5 separate regions of the Homo sapiens genome follow, and all the other regions are linked to region 1. The links are contacts of gene promoters, found by promoter capture Hi-C in blood cells and fetal thymus (Javierre and others, 2016). All regions are on one chromosome and are shown on one strand. Each heading gives the region's core, a stretch centred on a gene start or on the middle of the fragment in contact. The rest is flanking DNA. Distances are from core to core; before and after follow the strand shown.

Region 1 (2,557 bases), core at 40-2,539:
TCTCTTCTATGATCATCTTTAGAAGATTAATTCTGAGGCCCTTTATTATGCTCTGTGGTTTCAGGAAATCCTTACACGGCGCCCTTGAGAGCTTTCATACTGCAAGTCATCCATTTTCCTCCCCTCAAACCTGGCATCGGAGTTTATTGAAACAAAGCAAAATAAAACAAATAGACAAAGCTCTACCTCCATCACTTCTGCAGTCTACATTAACCCCACGTCCAGAATATTCACACCTCAGGTCTTTTTCTCACAATTGAAACACTGGTTCAGAGCCTAACGGAAGGTCTTGGAGGTAAAAACACAACTTGGGGCAACTTTTCCATTCTGTTCTGCATGACCCCAATGGGACTTCTCAGAAACCCCTCTCATGAATTAAACTTTGTTCTGTCTAGAGCATTAGAATAAGCTTATGGGCACCTGCCAGGAGATTATAAAGTGGGCCATTTAAAAGATGACAGATATTGAGCACCCTTGACCCTGTAGAAAGAGTGTACCTACTTGCTTTCCCTAGGGCCCTTAATGGTTTATAAAAACAAGCACTCACTGATTCAAAAAATATCCTCATTCCACAGTCTTGCCATGCCTTCTTTCTGAGCACATGGCAGTCAGTCTCTAGCACATCCAGTGTAAGATAGAACAGAGATCCCAGGCCACCCTGTGGGAAGGGGTAGAGAAATGCAATACATTTCACAGGAAGTAGAAACCTAGAAAGACCACACAAAAAAACCCCTGCTTTATGGCAAAGCCAAAGAATATTTGTGAAGATTCCCCGTAAACCATTAAATCTGACACAAGTGTCAGAGTAGGATCACTGTTAACACTTGTTTTTACTAACAATAAGTGCGTTGTTGCTGACCCTGGCAGAGGAGAACAGAGAGTTCTCGGCAGGGCTTCCAATACAGAAAACACCTGCCAGGGTGTCTCTGGGTTCCCTCACCCTGGCCAGTCTCTCCAGCTTGCCCACATCCCTGCCCCAGAGTGGGAACTGTCCCTACTTGCCCGTCTGTATTCCTGGGCGTCGTTCACTCGGTTGAGTCTCAGCACATAGCCATCCTTTCTGTCTTTGTTAATATCCCGCAGGGCAAAGCCTGCAACTGCCAGCACATCTGAGTCATTGCAGCCCCGGGAGAGCAGAGCCGAGGGGTTGAGGGCCAGCTGGGGTGGAGACATTGCTCCGCAGCACAGGACTAGGATGCAGAGTGCCAGGGGAAGGAGCAGACCCATTCTGTGGAGAACAAGGCCCAGGATGGGTCAGTTTGTGGAGCTGCAGGGACTGGCTGGCTTGTAAGGCTCTTTAAGGCAGACTTGAGCGGTTTTGTTACAACTGGAAGGGCTAACCAAGTTCACCTTGAATTCTGAACTTGGATTTTCCTAAGTCAGTACTTTGGATAGCATTTCCCAATGATTCTAACCTTAGACCCTTGAGCAACCTCATATCCACCTGTACATACAAATGAATTTAAGTTTCCCAACTGTTTCCTGAGAAATCATAACATTTGTTCAAGGCTCTTATGATTAGATTCTGATTTGCAGGTCCCCTCCTGAATAGGAATATGGAGGACTGTCCCATTCTCCCCCTCTCCCCTAACACCTTTGCTGTGGAGGTCTCCTTGGCCACTCTAATAGTTATCTTATGTCCCAGTGGTGCTTGGTGAATTCAGACTTCCTGGCTGACACTCTGTGTGCAAAGCCCTTGTTAGATCAGGGAGGTAGTTGAACCCCACAGTCATCTGCCAGAAGCACAGTTGAGATTCCTTAAGCACTTTGGCCATCTGGGTGGAAAATGTTCTACTTATCATCATTTAAGTTATTTTTAAACAATGACTTTACTTAAGGGGAAAAAGTCAAAGAGATATAAAAAGTTCTCACATTGTATTTCAAGCCTATTCTTCCTTTTATGCATATGTATGGAAGCAAGCTCATTAAGAGACTAAAGCCCCATACTCTTGCTAAAAGAAAGATACTGAAGGGCAGGTGGGTGGCAACACATTGGTTGGGACTCTTGCCTTCTTTTTTTTTTTTTTTTTTTAGCTTCTATTTGTGATTCAGAAAGGTTCTACTTATTGGGACCATACAAAAGACAATTATCTTTTAAAAACTGTATTTCAACAAAAAACACATATCAGCAGTAGTTTGTCATGAGAGAAAAGAGACAAAATGGGAAAGAAGCCTCTAGAAGAGGTTATCATGAAGGGCATTCTATAAAGCCCTAGTCCATGAGGTGAGTAACCACCCCCTAACTCTCTCCCTACTCCTAGCCCTTCTCTTCCTTCCTGTCCCTGTCCAAGGATTCTGCATTCAAATAAGTTTAGGAACTGCTGAATCCTTCTGTGTGCTTGCTGGTACACAGTGGTGGCTATTGTGTAATGCTGAGAGGATTATCCTATCCTGATGAGGGCTCCACCCTCATGAATGGAATATGCCATTATCTTGAAAGTGAGTTCCTGATAAAAGGATGTGTTTGGTCCCCTTCTCTCTTCCTTTCACCTGTGTGATGCCTTCCACCATGTTATGATGTAGCATGAAGGCTCTCAGCAGGTATAGCCCCTCGATC
Region 2 (2,557 bases), core at 26-2,525, 750 kb after region 1:
TTCTTCTCCTAGTCACTTTCATTGCTTCTTTCAGAGATATTTATTCTAAAGGCCCTTCCTAGTCTAGGGACCAGTCTTGTGAGCAAAGATACCTCTTGGCACTCCAGCCTCCAGCCATTTGATTCACTATCATCCATTTGAGTTTTCCAAATGCAGGCCCTAGACATTGTAGAACACAGAAGGGTTATCCCTGTCAAGCTCTCCTCAAGTTGCATATTCTTAAGCAAAATAAATTACTGTTGTTCTACACCACTAGGTTTTGAGAGTGATTTGTTATGCAGTAATACATAAAGAGAACAGAGGGAATAAATGGAAGATTCACCTGGGGCTCATTACATTGTAAGAGATAAGGTAAAAATCCAAGCTAATTCCTTTCCACATAGTGACTCCAGTGTCTCAGTACCTGTAAATGTCAGAATGTCTTGTTCATATATTTTTTTACAGCATTGAATATAATGATTAACATATAATAAGTATTAAAAATGCTTGTTGAGGTTGGGTGCAGTGACTCACGCCTGTAATCCCAACACTTTGGGAGGCCAAGGAGGGCAGATCACTTGAAGTCAGGATTCAAGACCAGCCTGGCCAACATGGTGAAACCCTGTCTCTACTAAAAATAGAAAAAATTAGCCGGTCATGGTTGCAGGCACCTGTAATCCCAGCTACCCAGGAGGCTGAGGCAGGAGAATTGCTTGAGCCCAGGAGGCGGAGGTTGCAGTGACCCAAGATCACGCCGCTACATTCCAGCCTGGGTGACAAAGAGAGACTCTGTCTCAAAAAAAAAAAAAGTAAAAATTTAAAGAAATTTTTTTAATGCTTGTTGAATGGAACTTTATATATTCACTGTGAAAATGTCATCTTTACGATATTGATCCTTCTCAAGCAAGGATTATCTCTTCTATATTCATATACTCCTTTATCACATTATAGTTTTATCGTTTTCTTTGCTTTTAAATCAATATCTTTGCTTTTAAATCAAGTCAATTAAATTTTTATTACTATTGTGAAAAACTGTTTATATTGCATTTTGCTGTATGAAAATAGAAGAGAAAAATATAATGAATTTTTATCATATACTGTAAAATCTTGCTTCAATTTAAATTTTAAATACTTCCAGTTTTAGGCTGACATCTGTGACAATGGAATCAAAAGATAACATTAAGAAAATGAAAACACAAGCCATCAATTGAGAGAAGTTATTTGCAAATCACGTATCTGATAAAGAACTTGTATCCAGAATATATAGAGCTCTTACACTTCAATAATAAGACAAACAATGCTCAATTTGAAAAATGGGCAAAAGACTTGAATAAACATTTCACCAAAAAAGACATGCAAATGGCTAATAAGCACATGAAAATATGTTCAACATCATTAGTCACTAGGGAAATGCAACTTTAAACCACAATGAGATATCACTTCACACACACTAAAATGGCTATAATTACAAAGACAGAAAAGAACAAATGTGGGTGAGGAAGTAGAGAAACTGGAACCCTCACGTACTGGTGGCAGAAATACAAAAATGGTAGAGCCACTTTGGAAAACAGGTAGGTTTTGTTTTGTTTTGTTTTGTTTTGAGATGGAGTCTCGCTGTGTCACCCAGGCTGGAGTGCAGTGGTGTGATCTCGGCTCACTGCAACCTCTGCCTCCCGGGGTCAAGTGATTCTCCTGCCTCAGCCTCCTGAGTAGCTGGGATTACAGGTGCCCGCCACCACACCTGGCTAATTTTTGTATTTTTAGTAAAGACAGGGTTTCACCATGCTGGCCAGGCTGGTCTTGAACTCCTGACCTTGTAATCTGCCTGCCTTGACCTCCCAAAGTGCTGGGATTATAGGCGTGAGCCACCGCTCCCGGCTTTTCTTTTCTTTCTTTCTTTTTTCTTTTTTTTTTTTTTTTGAGATGGAGTCTTGCTCTCTTGCCCAGGCTGGAGTGCGGTGGTACAATCTCAGCTCACTGTAACCTCCATCTCCCAGGTTCAAGTGATTCTCCTGCCTCAGCCTCCCAAGTAACTGGGATTACAGGTGTGCACCACCATGCCCAGCTAACTTTTTGTATTTAGTAGAGAGGGGTTTCACCGTGTTAGCCAGGATGGTCTCGATCTCCTGACCTTGTGATCTGCCCAGCTCAGCCTCCCAAAGTGCTGGGATTACAGGTATGAGCCACCACACTCAGCCAGATAGTGTTTTTAAAATATAAGTTTGTTCTAAAACCCAGCCATTCCATTTCTAGGAATGTACCCAACAAAAATAAAAACATATATCCACACACAAAAAAACATGCAATCACATGTTCACAGCAGAATTCTTCCTAATAGCTCAAAACTGGAAACAACGTAAATGTCCAGCTCCTGATGAATAGTTAAACAAAATGTGGACCCAGGCAGGTGGATCACCTGAGGTCAGGAGTTCGAGAGCAGCCTGGCCAACATGGCAAAACTCCGTCTATACTAAAAATACAAAAATTAGCTGGGCGTGGTGGCGCACGCCTATAATCCCAGCTACTCCAGAAGCTGAGGCAGGAGAATCAGTTGAACCCAGGAGGCAGAGGTTGCAGT
Region 3 (2,557 bases), core at 42-2,541, 650 kb after region 1:
CCACTGCTGGGTTCTCAGGAGGACAAAAGCACAAGACCATTTCTGCACTTTTCTGCTTCCTGCTGGTAGGTGGGAAATCAGGGAACAGAAAACTAATGCTCATTCACACTATGGTACAATGGAAAGAAAATTGGCCTTGGAGTCGAATAATCTTAGGTATGCTCTGCAAGGAATGGGCTGACTCCGCACCTTTCTGGGCTGGTTCCCTCAAACACTGCTGATAATGATTCTGAACTCAGGAGATGGTTATGATGACTGGATAAAGGGGTTAAGTACCTTGCACAATGCAGATGCTCCAGGCACACCAGCTCCTGGTAATTCTTGCTGTTTCTCACAGGAACCTCACAGGCCTCTGCCATCTGCAAGCTTCAGACGAGCCACACAAGAGAGGCAAGCTAGGAGCTCATCCCCAAGGGAGCTTTCAGACTCATGGTTTCAAAGAATTTTCACTTTATTACACATTTGTTCAGGCTTCAGTCTGATTTGACTAAAATGTAAAGACAGGGCCGGGCACAGTGGCTCATGCCTGTAATCCCAACACTTTGGGAGGCCAAGGTGGGCAGATCACTTGAGTCCAGGAGTTCAAGACCAGCCTGGCCAACATGGCAAAACCCTGTCTCTACTGAAAGTACAAAAATTAACCAGGTGTAGTGGTGCATGCCTGTAATCCCAGCTACTCAGGAGGCTGAGGGAGGAGAATTGCTTGAACCTGGGAGGCGAGGTTGCAGTGAGCTGAGATTGTGCCACTGCACTCTGTTGCCTGAGCAACAGAGCGAGACTCTGTCCCAAAAAAATAAAATAAAATAACATGTAAAGACAACCTCACATATTTGGGGTGGCCAGGGCAGCCTGGCTTCCTAAGCTAATCACAATGTACGGGTTCAAGTTTAACCTCATCTCCAAACAAAATGTCTATTTCTTGCCAAAAGAAGGCTCAGAAAGACTAAACTGTCTACCTCATCAGTGGTGTACTCATTTGGAAGGGATCCAAGAGTGTTGGAGTCTGGGCCAGCCAAAAGCACCCCAGCCACTTTTGGAGAGAGCAGGCGGAAGTGAGGGCTCTGATTTTCATGTTAAATCCTCATTTGGCCTCGGAAATGTTAAAAATAAACTTTCACCTGCATCTGATTTTCCTCTTTGTTATTGCAGCCATTGTCTGTTTGAACAAAGAGGTAGCAAGAGCCTCTTTGAGCAGTTCATAGAGTTCAAGCCAGAGCCCAAATTGGAGGGACACAGATGTTAATGAACAAGAGGACCAGCAAGAGTGCCACTGGGAATTAAAAACTCCCCTAGGATTTTCAGGTCCCTGATGGCAGGCAGGGGAACTACAGACCCCATTTTTCTGTGCCAGCTGCCCCCACCTGGCTTTCAGAAGGACTTGGGAGCTGCATATGGATTTCCCCCTAAGCAACTTGATACTAAATTGAAATCTTGATGATTCAGCCCCCCATTACCCCAACTCTTCTCTCCTGTCTGCTTGTATTTTGGAGGCTCCATCAGATGTGGGTGGGATGGGGTTTCCAATAGGATAAGAAAGCACAAACTAGGCACTACAGAATGTGTTGTTGAATTTAGAGGCAGTGTGTCATTGTAGAAAGATCCTGGGTTTAACAGCTAGATAAATCTGGGTTCAACAGCTAGATAAATCTGGGTTCGAATTCATTACTTTTCAGCTGTGTGACCTTGGGCAAGTCACTCGACTCTCTGGGCCTCAGTTTACTTCTCCATAAAATGGGCATAAAAATACTGTACTGATTAAGGTGATGATAGCTGCTATAATAAACACACACCCTCAAAAATGTCAATTGCCTCTAATGTTATGGAAGTTTATTTTGTGTTCACATAAAATTGAAAACAGGTGCTCCTAATCTGTGAGCCGCTCTCCTCTAAGAGGGAATTTAGGTGGCTGGGCTCCACCAAAGTCATCAGCATGGACATCAGTCCAAAGGTGAGGGGAAGATGATGGAGGACTGTGGCAAGTGGAAGAGATTTATGCCAGGCCTAGAAGTGTCACACACCACTTCCACTCACATGCTAGTGTCTAGAACAGTCCTACAGCTGTAATTAATTTTTTAATTACAGTGTTTTTGTAATTGCAAAAAACGCTGAGAAATGAGGTCCAGCTGTGTACCAAAGAAGACAAGGAAACCAAGATTGGTAAACATCTAGCTAGTCTTTGCCACATACACCAACTTTTCAGGGAGATACTAAGCTTAAATAAAAGAGTGACTATGAGGCCAGGCGCAGTGGCTCATGCCTGTAATCCCAGCACTTTGGGAGGCTGACATGAGAGGATCCCTTGAGCCCAGGAGTTCGAGACCAGCCTGGGAAACATGGTAAAACCCTGCCACTGCTAAAAAATAATAAAAAAAATTAGCCGGGCATGGTGGTACATGCCTGTAGTCCCAGCTACTCGGGAGGCTGAGGCAAGAGGATCACTTGAGTCTGGGAGGTCAAGACTGCAGTGAGCTGTGATCATGCCACTGCACTCCATTGTGGATGACAAAAGAAGACCCTGTCTCCAAAATAAGTAAATAAATAAATAAAAATGATGACT
Region 4 (2,557 bases), core at 35-2,534, 600 kb after region 1:
ATACAATGCAGGCAGGAGTGTTAAATGGTACAACCAACTTTGGAAAACTATTTGGCAGTTTATTACAAAGGTAAACATACATCTACTCTATGATCCAGCAATTCCAATTCTAAGTATTTGCCAAAAAGAGATATAAACATGTATTACAAAAAGACGTATGCAAGAACATTTATAGAAGCTTTATTTACAACAGCCACTCAAAACAACCCAAATGCCCGTCAACCAGAGAACAAATAAACAAGTCATGGTATCCATACAACAGAATACTACTCAGCAATAAAAGAAAATGAACTACAGATACACATAGCAGTATGGATGAATCTCAAAAACATTATGTTAAACTAAATAATAACACAAAAGAATACATACTGTGTTATTCTATAATATATGAAATTCTAGAATAGCCAAAACTAACCTATGGTGATAGAAAGCGGTAGCAAGGGATGGGTGGACAGGTATTGGCGGGAAAGGGGTAGAGGGAACATGCTGGGGTGATTGACAGAAATTGTCTATATCTTGGTTTGGGTGACTGTTATATGTATATGTTTGTTAACATTCATTGAACTGAACACCTGAAGTCTGTGCATTTTATTTTATGTTAATTATTCCTCTGAAAATATAGTCATTGTTTGAGATAAAACCAAAATCCTGAACTTGGCCTTTGGCAATACCTCTTCAGCCTCACCATGCACCATCCTCTCCCCTGTAATATATGTTCCACAGCCCCTCGCCTTCTTCCAGTGTCTCAACCATACCTTGATCCCTCCTGTTCCATCCTTGACACGAGCTATTCCCTGGAGCTGAAATGTTATCCCGCCCCTGAATCCATCTCTGGCCTCCAAGCAGCTTACCCTCCACCCATTCTTTACTCTCATTTCTAAGAGCACCCCAGGGAAAACAATCAGTTTATCTTTCAAATAAATGAATAATTGCATTTTCCAAGCCTTCCAAGATTTGCTCTCATTCCCCTCCAACACCATTTTAATACTCTTTCAGTGCTTGCTATCTATTTTTTATAGAACTTCTCACAATTTTTAACCTTTCATTTGCAACATTAGTTACTTGGCCTCCCCCAATAAACGGTACATTTTATGAAGGCAGGACCGTACCTAACTGCTTTATCTACGATAAAGAGTAGGTGATTAAGAAATATGTATTGACTGACTGAGTGCAGTTATGAGCATCTTTGTTCACTTACGACTTCCAGGATAAATTCCTAGAAGATATATGATTTGGTCAAAAGGGGGGCAAATTTTAAAGCCATTTATATAGACTGCAAAAAGCCTTCCAGAAAGATTGTGAGGATTTGTACCTTTACTAGTATCCTGCAACTTCTTTCGCCTAGGTTCTTACAACCTTTGTCTACATTGGGCATTATTTGTATGTACCCCTCTGTTTACCATTCATTCTTTCTTATCTTTATTCAAATAATATTTATTGAGCACTTATTATGTACTGCGTTCTGAGCCAGATGTTGAGGATGAAATGATGAATTCGATCAGTAGTTTTCACATTTTTTCCTTACCTTCTCTCTAAAAGAATTTTGAAAATCTAGGTATCCTTTAGCACTGTTTTAAGTCGACCCTTAATAATTTCCACCGTATTGTAAAAATAATTTCCCATTTATTATAAATTCTGACATTTAAAAATATTATCACAATTTAGTTATTAAAAATGCAAAATTAGCTGGGCATGGTGGCAGGCACCTGTAATCCCAGCTACTCAGGAGGCAAGGCTGGAGAATTGCTTAAACCTGGGATGTGGAGGTTGCAGTGAGCTGAGATTGTGCCATTGCATTCCAGCCTGGGCGACAAGAAAGAAACTCCATCCCAAAAGAAAAATTTTTTTTTTACTCTATTATACCTGTATACAACAAATTATTTTAGATAATTTCCTTTGACAATAAAGCTATATATCTTAAAAATTATTCTGTATTTAGTGATTACAAGTATTAGTTCACAATTGATCAAAAAACATAAATATATCACCAAATCTGATATACACTTATTAAACATAAAAAGTAAAAATCTGTCTGAATTGAATCTCTGAATGAGCTAGATGGGAGTGTTATTGGTTTTGTCCACTAGTTCACTGCAAGAATGAGATGGGTTTAGCATCAATTCTATTCCTATTTTTCCATTTTAAGTCTAAGAAATATCATGTGGCAGAGAGTGCTACCTGTCCACCAAAATCATTTTTCTTCTCTTTCAGTAATAAGATTGTTAGGTAAATATGCGGGTGGGCTATATTTCCCAGCATTCCTTGCAGTGTGGCTGTGCCCATTATCTATATATTGCCTCTCAGCTCAAATTCACCCTTGTCTGTTTCCTCTGTAAAGTTGATCTGGGCCCTTTAAACATTTTTCCTTTGGTGGCTGGCGCTGAAGCTTTGGGGTGCTAGAGTGATACTGAAAGAGAAAAGCATTTTACTTCCTAGTTCCCATGTGCAGCCTCCTCCAAGGATCACAGCTTCTCCAGTGCCCAGCTACTGCAGTGCACAGTAGTCAGCAGCACCCAGCAGCCGGCAGCTTCCCTTGGCCCCCACCCTTCCAGTCAGT
Region 5 (2,557 bases), core at 34-2,533, 550 kb before region 1:
TCATTAAACTTTCAGTCCTTCAAGTCAGTATTCTTACCTCTGAATTAAGGCAACCAACACCTAAATAAGTAAACTCGTTTAACAAACCTCACAGATATGATGGGAACTGCCTCAGGTGGGAGTTACTGGCCAAAATGAGAATGGGGGCTGTGGACCTTCCCAGAAAATACGTGAAGCTGAGAGGAGCTTATAACAAACAGTGCTACCCAGAACAAATCCTCTAGAAGTATTTTGCAGGTGTTGCTACAATAAACACTATGATGACAGAAGACAGAAAGTAAGAATCACCAGAGGGGTGTGTGTGTGTGTGTGTGTGAGTGTGTGTGTGTGTGTAACCAGCTGATGCAATCCCCATTGGCACAAATTAAGTTTTATTTAGAACCCAAGCTTGCTGTGCAGAGGCCAATATAATGCATCCTTCTGGATAGCAGAGTATTTTCTCTAATAAAAATTTCTATCAAGACAGAAAAAAATACTGTGGTATTGCAACTTGCTCTCTATCAAATGACCTCTAACACCATGGAATCTACAATTTAGAGAAGGCCAATTCAGACATCTCTAAAGCTGTTGGCCTCACCCTGGTCAATTTCTTAAAGTTTGTGATCATGTTTTAAGTGGATAAAATGCTTTAAATTAAGTTCCCAACTAGAAAATAGAGCAATGAAAAGAAAAAACAAGCCTCTAATTTTTTTTCTTGAAATGATGCACTCATGAAAAATTCTCAACTATGCACAATTTTCTATCCCTAAATGGCATTTGAGAAGAAGGAGGGGTGTGTTTTAGGGCTGGACCCATGACTGGAAGTTTCTACTGGTACCCTGTACCAAAGATCTAAATGTGCCTCACAGTCCCAAAACAAAGACTCTTTCCTTCCAGAATGCCCCAACATTGCTGGACCAGAACAGTAAGCCCCTCCATCTGTTGATTTAATGATATTAAGAGCCCATGTAGTAGTCTCAACTTTAAAGGAATTTTTAATTTTCTTCTCTAATGGCAACATTTTTTTTCCTTGGGTACTAAGATTTCTAAAATAGCAGAGATCAAAGTTATGGGTACAGAAAGAAAAGGGAAAAAAAACTAGTTTACCATTAGGGCTAATTTTGAGAAAGCCAGTCCATTCTACCCTTTAATTCTTGGAACTAAGCACTATATCATCATGGTTGCTAATTCTGAGCATGTACCACATCCTGGAGAACATTATCCTAGCCCTGCAAGGTCCTGTCCCCCAGCTGATTCTATAACTGAGTCTTCCAAAGACCACCACATTGTTCAATCAGGCCAACTACTTCAGGATTATGGGTGATATAGTTAAGACTAATGAATTTCATGAGTGTGAGCTCATTGCCAGATTTCCTTTACTTTGAAATGAGTTGCCAGTCAGAAGCAATGCTATATGGAATATCACAATGGTATATAAGGAATTCTCTAAATCCACTGCTAAGTGCCTGATATGGTTTGGATTTGTGTCCCCACCCAAATCTCATGTTGAATTGTAATCCCCAATGTTGGAAGAGGGTCCTGGTGGGAGGTGATTGGATTATAGTGGTGGATTTCCCCCTTGCTCTTCTGGTGATAGTGAGTGAGTTCTCATGAGATCTGGTTGTTTAAATGAGTGTAGCACCTCCCCCTTCGCTCTCTCTTCCTCCTGCTTCAGCCACGTAAGACAAGCCTGCTTTCCTTCACCTTCCGTCATGATTGTAAGTTTCCTAAGGCCTCCTCAGCTATGCTACCTGTACAGCCTATGGAACCCTGAGCCAATTAAACCTCTTTTCTTTATATTAATAAATTACCCAGTCTCAGGTATTTCTTTTTAGCAGTGCAAGAATGGACTAATACAATGCCCAAATTCCAAAAACAGAGAGAGACCAACACTGAACAATTGATTGGGCCATGATTCCATGGGAAACAACCAACGACCTGGTGGCAAGTTGATTACACTGGACCATTTCCATCAAGGAAGGGATAGACCTTTGTTTTCACTGGAAGAAACAATTACCGTGAATATGGACTTCCCTTCCTCTCCACAATGCCTCTGCCATTTGTGAACTTTCATAATGCCTTATTCACCATTATGGTATTTCTCCACTTGGGTCTTTCCTTTTAGCTGCTCAGGCTTCTTCACTACATGGTAGTTTGTTTCCAAGAAGATTCATTCTAGGAAGAATAAATGGAAGCTTCCAGTCCTCCTTAAGGCTAGAGTCAGAAGTCCCATAACATCACTCCTGTCATATTCTGTTGATGAAAGCAATCACAGGGCCAGCCCGATATAGGGGAATGGGAAATAAACTTCAACTCTTGATGGGGAAATTGCCTGTGCCTATAGGAAGGGAAGGAATTGGTGGCAGCCATCTTTGGAGACTTTCTACCACAGTACCTGATTATTTTTCTTCATCCTTCAAAGAGCTTAGTGCCTTGAGAACACGATGTCCAATTCTATGATGTAGGTAGAGGTTGACATTATTTTGCAAAAAAAAAAAAAAAAAAAAGCAAACTAAGGATCAAAAAGGCAAAGTAGCCAAAGAGTAAACTAATCCAGCAAGTCCAATCCCAAAACATA

What was found. The method cuts DNA at HindIII sites, captures the fragments that hold promoters and counts their contacts. A CHiCAGO score of 5 or more calls a contact.
Region 2: a contact is called between a fragment that was not itself captured here and the fragment with the promoter of FETUB in region 1, in 1 of 17 cell types (neutrophils). The highest score is 5.1, in neutrophils.
Region 3: a contact is called between a fragment that was not itself captured here and the fragment with the promoter of FETUB in region 1, in 6 of 17 cell types (activated CD4 T cells, total CD4 T cells, naive B cells and 3 more). The highest score is 9.2, in activated CD4 T cells.
Region 4: a contact is called between a fragment that was not itself captured here and the fragment with the promoter of FETUB in region 1, in 1 of 17 cell types (naive B cells). The highest score is 5.7, in naive B cells.
Region 5: a fragment that was not itself captured here is called in contact with the fragment with the promoter of FETUB in region 1 in 7 of 17 cell types (naive B cells, total CD4 T cells, total CD8 T cells and 4 more); the score reaches 6.1 in naive B cells.

What each region holds. Positions count from the first base shown.
Region 1 is chr3:186,639,131-186,641,687 of GRCh38, reverse strand. It overlaps FETUB (fetuin B), which reads right to left and starts at 1,289. Exons shown (of 7, transcript NM_014375.3): 1 at 1,003-1,289; 2 at 548-658. The coding sequence starts at 1,227. It overlaps HRG-AS1 (HRG and FETUB antisense RNA 1), which reads left to right. Exons shown (of 3, transcript NR_187317.1): 3 at 65-179. The HindIII fragment of the contact is 5,467 bases long and covers 412-2,557 here.
Region 2 is chr3:185,886,126-185,888,682 of GRCh38, reverse strand. No RefSeq gene overlaps it. Among named protein-coding and RNA genes, the nearest start is that of TRA2B, 51 kb to the left of the region's middle. The HindIII fragment of the contact is 8,994 bases long and covers 1-2,557 here.
Region 3 is chr3:185,987,421-185,989,977 of GRCh38, reverse strand. No RefSeq gene overlaps it. Among named protein-coding and RNA genes, the nearest start is that of TRA2B, 51 kb to the right of the region's middle. The HindIII fragment of the contact is 1,846 bases long and covers 369-2,214 here.
Region 4 is chr3:186,038,552-186,041,108 of GRCh38, reverse strand. No RefSeq gene overlaps it. Among named protein-coding and RNA genes, the nearest start is that of ETV5-AS1, 39 kb to the left of the region's middle. The HindIII fragment of the contact is 2,208 bases long and covers 181-2,388 here.
Region 5 is chr3:187,191,587-187,194,143 of GRCh38, reverse strand. No RefSeq gene overlaps it. Among named protein-coding and RNA genes, the nearest start is that of RTP1, 4.6 kb to the left of the region's middle. The HindIII fragment of the contact is 1,787 bases long and covers 390-2,176 here.